Linked DNA regions of Homo sapiens: regions 1 and 2 are each linked to region 3. Evidence: promoter capture Hi-C in human tissues and cell types (Jung and others, 2019). All regions are on one chromosome and are shown on one strand. The core of a region is centred on a gene start or on the middle of the fragment in contact, and the rest is flanking DNA. Distances in the headings are between cores, read along the strand shown. Region 1 overlaps HAUS2 (HAUS augmin like complex subunit 2). Region 2 overlaps STARD9 (StAR related lipid transfer domain containing 9). Region 3 holds the start of LCMT2 (leucine carboxyl methyltransferase 2).

Region 1 (2,700 bases), core at 76-2,575, 760 kb after region 3:
AGAATTGCTCAAACCCAGGAGGCGGAGGTTGCAGTGAGCTGAGATGACACTACTGCACTCCAGCCTGGTGACAGTGAGACCCTGTCTCAAAAAAAAAAAAAAAATTGCATATGCACTTCAAGCTTATATTGTTCAAGGGTCTAATGCATAATTTTTTTAGTAAACTCAATTAGTGGATTCCCCAAATTGTGAGATAAATCTTTTATGTAAATTCATGTGTTTTACAGATATGTGAAGAAATCCCACAATACACTAATTACAGTCTTATTAAAATCTCAACTCTATTATAGATTTTGCATGTCAAGAAATCTTTTAGGTTCTGCTATTCCTCAGACTGTTCCTGACTTCATTGAGGGTTTCAGAGGATAAATCAGGGGTCAGACTGGTAGAGTCACATAGAGAAAGAAAGAAAATAAGAAAAATGCTAGGAAAACCAGGCAGCATCTCAATTCCTCCAGAATGGTCTTCACAAACTGGCATCACTGTTATGCTGGCAATAAATTTGCAAATCTCACACACCTCTTCTAGTGTAAGTAGGAAACACAGACATTCAGGCTAGGTGCAAGGGGCTAACACCTGTAATCCCAGCACTTTGGGAGGCCAAGATTGCTTGAACCCAGGAGTTCAAGACCAGCCTGGGCAACACGACGAGACCTCATCTCAACAAAAAAATTTAAAAGTTAGCTGGGTGTGGTGGGGCACAGTTGTAGTCCCAGCTACTTGGGAGGCTGAGGTGGAAGGATCCATTGAGCCCAGGAGGTTCAGAGTGCAGTGGGCTATGATTGTGCCACTGCACTCCAGCCTGGGTGAGAGCAAGACCATCTAAAAAACAAGAACAACAACAACAACAAAAAAAGGCATGCAGAGCTAATTTTTTTTTAATATCCACACATCTAAAAGTTGAATAATTAAAGAAAAATTAATCAGCACTGATTGACTCTGGAAGAGTATTAAATTAGCTTTCTCTTTGAAGTAGACCTCAGGCTTAACTTACCTCAAGCTCTTTTGATTCTGAGAGCCTATATGCCTATACTGTATAAGTTAAACAGTGCATCAGTCCTTTCTATCACTTTAAATTCAGACTAGGACTAAAAAATTTTAGTTAGAAATTACAAGTTTATTTTTATATTTTGAAAAAGGCATAATAGAAAACAAAAATAAACAACCAGGCATATCAATATTTGTGACATACACATACACACAAAAATGAATATAGGAAATAACACGAAGAAAAAGCATAGTATGTTTTGAAACCAACGTGGGGTATGAACAGATTTTTGATGAAATACAACTAAAGGTTTTAAGTGTCTATGTAATGTTCGAGATATTACGATCACTCTTATCCTACTAGCAAAAATTAGCAAACTAGGCTTTAAAACATGATTCCTGTTGTTTTAGCAGGATTTATTTTGGTAATGATCCTGCTTCCTTATAAACAACTACTTATCATTGTTGAAGTCTTCTTGTGTTAAGGAGTACAATGAGGCCAGGCGCAGTGGCTAACACCTGTACTCCCAGCACTTTCGGAGGCTGAGGCGGGAGGGTCGTTTGAACCCAGGAGTTCAAGACCAGCCTCAACAACATGGCAAAACTCTGTCTCTACAGAAAATACAAAAATTAGCCAGGCGTGGTGGCGCGTGCCTATAGTCCCAGCTACTTGGGAGGCTGAGGTGGGAGGATCACTTGAGCCTGAGAGGTCAAGGCTGCAGTGAGGTCAAGATTGGGCCACACCACACTCTCAGCAACCTGGGTGACAGAGTGAGATCCTGTCTTTAAAAAAAAAAAAAAAAAAAGGAAAGAAAAGAACAAAACAAAAAACAAAACTGATGTACATGTTTTAAAGCAAAATAGAACCCCAAGTCTAAAAGTAAAATAAGCCAAGGTTAGTTACAATACTGATTAAAAAGAGTATATCCTGAGGCAGTTGTTAGTATATCACTCTCTATTATATGCACAATAACCTCTGATAGGTAAAATATCTGAGCATTTTGCAAGGTAAACCTCCAAAGTTATACCACAGTGTGCCTTTTTCTTTGCTGTTTCTTCTTTGCCTATTCCTACAGCTACCAGTAAACACTTAGGAACTGCTTTGTATGCCAGGGTCTCCAAGACTACCTCCAGGTTCCATGATTTGCTAGGAGAATTCACAAGACTCAGCATATCATCACACAGCTATGATTTATTACAGCAAAAGCATATGAAGCAAAACAGCAAAGAGAAAAGGTACAGAGGCAAAGTCTGGGGGAAACCAGGTATAAGCTTCCAGAGTCCTCTAACAGTGGAGTCACACATATCTGTTGTTTCATTCCACCAGCAACTGAATTGTGACAACATGTGAGAAATGTTGTTTACCAGGGAAACTTGTTAGAGATACAGTGCCCAGGGTTTTTACTGGGGGCTGGTCACGTAGGTACCTTCTACCTACCATGTACCAAAATTCTAGACTCCCAGGAAGAAAGCAGGTTTTCAGCACAAACCACAGGTTAGCTACCATGAACGACTCTTTTCAGTGAGTGGAGCCCTCCTGTTAAGGTTTAAATATGTCCCCCAAAGTTCAAGTGTTGGAAATTTAATTGACATTGTAAAAGTGTTATGAGACCTTTAAAAAGTAATTAGGTAAGGAGGGCTTTGCCCTCATTAATGAATTAGTGCTGCTATCTTGGGAGTGGGCTCATGATAAAAGGCTAAGTTTAGACCCAT
Region 2 (2,700 bases), core at 11-2,510, 610 kb after region 3:
GAAGGCTGCAGTCTCGGGTGGGCTGTAGGTGGAGCGCTGTAATTGTGGCTTTGCTCTGTGCATTACAAGGTGAGCTACCTTGGCTCTTAGAAATGCCTGTATATTCCACTCTAGAGGGCTAGTCTCTGGTGGCAATATCTATTAATTTAATTTATCGCCAGTGGTACTGACTTCTCCTGTGTAACTCGCTTTATTTGTGGGAGAAAGGGTTAGGATAATGTAGTTTCCACACACAAGATATTCCCTACTGAACCACATGGTGGGGCAGTGTTCTTGTTAAGCTTGTTAAGGCTAAGGTGTTTGTTTGATTGATTTGGCTTGGAGTTTCTCAGAGCAAAAGCATTGCTTCTCGATTACAGCTGTATCAAGCTCTATAAATGAGCCACTGATTTTGACAGGTTCACACCTGTAATCCCAGTGCTTTGGGAAGCCGAGAGAGAGGACTACTTGAGTCCAGGAGTTAGAGGTTACAGTGAACTATGATTGTGCCACTGCACTCCAGCCTGAGCAAGAGTGAGACCCCCATCTCTTTGAGGGGAAAAAAAAAAAGCACTACTGTGATCATGTGCATTAATAACCAGGAGTTGGACTGATAATATAATCCTCAGGAGGACCTAAAGGGGTCCACTTGTGTGACCATGGTAGAGCCAGGAAATCCCATCAACCTAGAAAGTAAAAAATGGGAGTTTTCCTCAGTCACCACCTTGTGATCATACTTCTCCCAAACACCATGCCTTTCCCTTCTCCTCAGCTCAGCTACTCCTTTAACAAGTTTCTATATCTGAACCATTTTCCCCTGATCTCTTCATTTTCAAAGGCCTTTATCTTTATCCTTTAAATCCAATTTGTTCTGAATGCCTGGGAACCAAAAAAGCTTTAAGGAATGCTTTCTCGGCCGGACACAGTGGCTCACACCTGTAATCCCAGCACTTTGGGAGGTCAAGGCGGGAGGATCACTTGTGCTCAGGAGTTTGAACCAGCCGGGGCAACATGGGGAAGCCTCATCTTTAAAAAATACAAAATTGGTGAGGAGTGGTGGTCCATGCCTGTGGTCATAGCTACTTGGGAGGCTGAGGTCAGAGGATCACTTGAGCCCAGGAGGTCAAGGCTACAGTGAGCCATGATCACACCACTGCAGTCCAGCCTGGGCTACAGAGCGATACCCTGTCTGTCTCAAAAAAAAAAAAAAAGCTTTCTATGCCCAGAGACCAGCACTGGGTGTGATTAAACCATAGCACCGCCCCCACCCAGGAAGCTTAGGGTCAGCGTCAGGCTTGTGGCTACTCCTTGACTTGTTCCAGAGGACCCAGCTGAGGTGTGTGACATGGAATGGGCAGGAGAGGAAAACCTGAAACCCCTAAGGATGCTGAGACTGAAGGGCTGGGCCATAACCCAGGCCTGGCTTAAGGCCCACTGAGTTAAAAACAAGTTCTTGGGAATCTGAATGGAAATTTAACATGTTCCCGATGAAGGAAACTTCCTGCTGGCCTGTGTGAGCCTTAAAGGCTACTCTAAGGATTATGGAGACAGGCAGCTAGTGGGTCAGTGAACTAGATTCTGTATGTCTGCTCTCTAATTGTCAAAGCCAGCTGTTTATAAAATGTGGTCCCCAGACCAGCAAACTTCAGGGTCCCCTGGGACTTCTTGTTAACACAAATTCTCTGGTCCTTCTCCGGGGCTACCAAACCAGTAACTTGGGGTAGGGCCCATCCTGGGGCATAAGAAAGCGTTCAGGTGATTCTGATGTATGCGAAAGTATGACAACCACGCCATGAATCCAAAATCTGACTCCACTTTTGCTTTTTGCTACAAGATCCCTCTCAATCTTTCGCTTGCTGATTCAGTCAGGTCTGGTGTTGCTTTTTTTTTTTTTTTTTTTTGAGACAGAGTCTCACTCTGTTGCCCAGGCTGGAGTGCAGTGACACAATCTCGGCTCGGCTCACTGAAACCTCCCCCTCCCAGGTTCAAGCAATTCTTGTGCCTCAGCCTCCCAAGTAGCTGGGATTACAGGCACATGCCACCACGCCTGGCTAATTTTTTGTATTTTTAGTAGAGACAGGTTTCACCATGTTGGCCAGGCTGGTCTCAAACTCCTGACCTCAGGTGATCCACCCGCCTCAGCCTCCCAACGTGCTGGGATGACAGGCATGAGCCACCATGCCCGGCTGGCTTCTCTATTAAGGCGGGCAGGGTCACCTCCTGGTTATCCCCTGACTCAGATTCCCATAGGTGGCTCTGCCTCAGAAGCCCCAGGGCACTGTGGTCACTGTTAGGTGTGGCAGTGACTGTTCTGGATTCTCCCCTTTAGTTCTTACTTGGGCTATAGTTGAGCAACTTACCTGGTTGCTGTTTACCCTGCAAAGCAATGCCAAGTTCATGGGAAACTGTACATACATGTAAACTGAATCTTTGAAACAGCTATGAGTGGGTATTGCCAGGGTGATCTCCAGCTAATCTGCCAAGCTCGAATCACACACTTAGGCTATCCCGGTGCAGGATTTCATCTACTCTTCACTAGATAAAGTACACAGAGGACTTTTAATTTTAAAATGTTCTTTTTTGGTCAGTAGTCTTAGTAAGAGATTTATATGAAAAGAGGTAGGAGTATATAAATAGGGTGTTAAATATATCATGTCACCAAAAAATTTACCCGAGAAATAGAAGTTTAAAAGCAATTTTAAAAAACCTTCAATCAACAAT
Region 3 (2,700 bases), core at 66-2,565:
CAAAAGACTCTTTTATCCCACAATATTCTTTAGCCACTGCCCTGACCCTTTTTTCCTTCTGAGTTAAGCTCCTCGAAAGTATAATAATTTAGACTGGATACCTCCTTTAACTCACCTCCTATTCACTGAAACATGGATTCTGCCCTTATTGCTCCACAGAAACTGCTCTCCCTAAGGCCATTAATGAGCTTTTAAACACCAAATCTAAATGTCACTTTTCAATTACCGAATCTTTATCCTGATCCAAACCTTTTCTTTCTTATTTCATTTTGTTCCACAAGAAAACATTGGAAAATACGAAACTTTTTCTTGACTCCAGTATCCAAATCTGCTGGACTCCAAAACTCACACTCTTAACCATTATGCAGTACCACCTGTAGTTAACCATAAAGTTATCTGATTTCCTTTTCTATTTCAGCCAGTCAGTCACCAAATCCCAGTGAACAAATGATAAATTTCCTAAATGTCTCTGGAAGTGGTTTCCTATGGATGACTCCCAGACACCCAATTTAGAAACTTTATGATTATTCTGAAGTCTAACCTGGATTTACTCCTTAAAAACAAAGCTCAGAACATATCACAGGGAACAATCACCTCTCTTCAGTGACTCCCCTTTCTGGGGACATATTCAACACTACTTTAAAATCCACAGAATTCTCCAAGGCGGTGTGATGAGAAAGAGAGGCTGAGTGGTTTATTCACCGTCAGTCTAACATAGGGCTGGGAATACAAGGGAATCAACAGTCTACTATCTGTGGGGAAACGTCTTCTTGTTAGGTGTCTATAAATTATTTGTAAAGGTCGGTTTCTTCAGTTTGCACCCTGGCCTTAGTGACTTGTTTTCAAGTTTTAAATGGGGTTCTCTTTTGCAACTGTGAGAGCATTAAATAAATCAGCAACTATTAGCACCCAAGGAAGCTAACTAATCCTTGCCTACTGAAGGTCCGTGGTGCCGACCCTTCTTGGCTCCTACCAGACCCTTCCTTGGCGGTCCAAGGAAGCCAAGTCGTCAGTCCCCACAGACTCACCTCTTAGAGATTTCTCAACTACAAGGACTTAGGCAAGGTTTCCCTTTTGACTGGAAGGCTTGTAGAAACGTGACAACCCGCCTTCCCTAACACTCATGTCACAGCGGTAGCGGACCGTATTCTGGGACAAATGGAACTCACGACATTCCAAAGAAAGGTCAGCCGCAAGCGAACTTAGCACTGGCTACACCCTCCTCAATTCTGGTTGGCGAGATGCGCTCTTCCCGGAAGTGACGCACAAGTGCCGGCGGAAGGGGAAGTCCAGGAGCATGGGTGGTTTTTTTCCCCCTACCGAGGTCCGTGAGGTGTGTGCTAACCAAGGGGCGGCTCACAACCGTGACAGACTGCCATTCCTGAGTCTCTTCTGGCCATGGGCCCCCGGAGCCGTGAGCGTCGGGCAGGCGCGGTACAGAACACCAACGACAGCAGCGCCCTCAGCAAGCGTTCCCTGGCCGCGCGCGGGTACGTGCAGGACCCCTTTGCCGCGTTGCTGGTTCCGGGCGCGGCGCGCCGCGCACCGCTCATTCACCGAGGCTACTACGTCCGCGCACGCGCCGTGAGGCACTGCGTGCGCGCTTTTTTGGAGCAGATTGGCGCGCCCCAGGCCGCGCTTCGCGCGCAGATCTTGTCTCTCGGCGCTGGCTTCGACTCGCTCTATTTTCGCTTAAAAACCGCGGGCCGCCTGGCCCGGGCTGCAGTCTGGGAGGTGGATTTTCCGGACGTGGCGCGGCGCAAAGCAGAAAGGATTGGAGAGACGCCAGAGCTGTGCGCGTTAACCGGGCCTTTCGAGAGGGGGGAGCCCGCGTCCGCGCTGTGCTTTGAGAGCGCAGACTACTGCATCCTGGGTCTGGACTTGCGGCAGCTCCAGCGAGTGGAGGAGGCCCTGGGCGCCGCGGGGCTCGACGCAGCCTCACCCACTCTGCTCCTGGCCGAGGCGGTGCTGACCTACCTCGAGCCGGAGAGTGCCGCGGCCCTCATCGCCTGGGCAGCCCAGCGTTTTCCTAATGCCCTTTTCGTGGTCTATGAGCAGATGAGGCCTCAAGACGCCTTTGGCCAGTTCATGCTGCAACATTTTCGGCAGCTAAACTCCCCCCTGCATGGCCTGGAGCGTTTTCCTGACGTGGAGGCGCAGCGGCGCCGCTTCCTTCAAGCTGGCTGGACCGCCTGCGGTGCCGTGGACATGAATGAATTCTATCACTGCTTTCTTCCCGCAGAAGAACGCCGGCGGGTGGAAAATATTGAACCCTTTGACGAATTTGAGGAGTGGCATCTGAAGTGCGCCCATTATTTCATTCTGGCAGCTTCTAGGGGAGACACCCTCTCCCACACCCTAGTGTTTCCATCCTCAGAGGCATTTCCTCGCGTAAATCCTGCTTCGCCTTCAGGGGTATTCCCTGCCAGCGTAGTCAGTAGCGAGGGCCAGGTCCCAAACCTGAAGAGATATGGCCACGCCTCTGTCTTCTTGAGCCCAGACGTTATTCTCAGTGCAGGAGGATTTGGAGAGCAGGAGGGGCGGCACTGCCGAGTGAGCCAGTTTCACTTGCTCTCAAGAGATTGTGACTCTGAATGGAAAGGCAGCCAAATAGGCAGTTGTGGGACTGGAGTTCAGTGGGATGGACGCCTTTATCACACCATGACAAGACTCTCAGAGAGTCGGGTTCTGGTTCTGGGA

The links. Contacts are between HindIII fragments. The study calls those that stand out against the background at their distance.
Region 1: a contact is called between a fragment that was not itself captured here and the fragment with the promoter of LCMT2 in region 3, in 1 of the 25 tissues and cell types used here (mesenchymal stem cells).
Region 2: a contact is called between a fragment that was not itself captured here and the fragment with the promoter of LCMT2 in region 3, in 1 of the 25 tissues and cell types used here (lymphoblastoid cells).

Annotation. Positions count from the first base shown.
Region 1 is chr15:42,568,391-42,571,090 of GRCh38, reverse strand. HAUS2 (HAUS augmin like complex subunit 2) reads right to left here. Exons shown (of 6, transcript NM_018097.3): 6 at 1,097-2,700. Among named protein-coding and RNA genes, the nearest start is that of STARD9, 5.9 kb to the left of the region's middle. The HindIII fragment of the contact is 5,134 bases long and covers 1-2,700 here.
Region 2 is chr15:42,720,818-42,723,517 of GRCh38, reverse strand. It overlaps STARD9 (StAR related lipid transfer domain containing 9), which reads right to left. Exons shown (of 33, transcript NM_020759.3): 33 at 2,520-2,700. Among named protein-coding and RNA genes, the nearest start is that of CDAN1, 15 kb to the left of the region's middle. The HindIII fragment of the contact is 4,414 bases long and covers 1-2,700 here.
Region 3 is chr15:43,329,188-43,331,887 of GRCh38, reverse strand. It overlaps LCMT2 (leucine carboxyl methyltransferase 2), which reads left to right and starts at 1,315. Exons shown (of 1, transcript NM_014793.5): 1 at 1,315-2,700. The coding sequence starts at 1,399. It overlaps MAPDA (N6-Methyl-AMP deaminase), which reads right to left and starts at 1,216. Exons shown (of 13, transcript NM_001324366.2): 1 at 1,029-1,216. RefSeq lists enhancers at 1,175-1,224, 457-1,407. The HindIII fragment of the contact is 18,030 bases long and covers 1-2,700 here.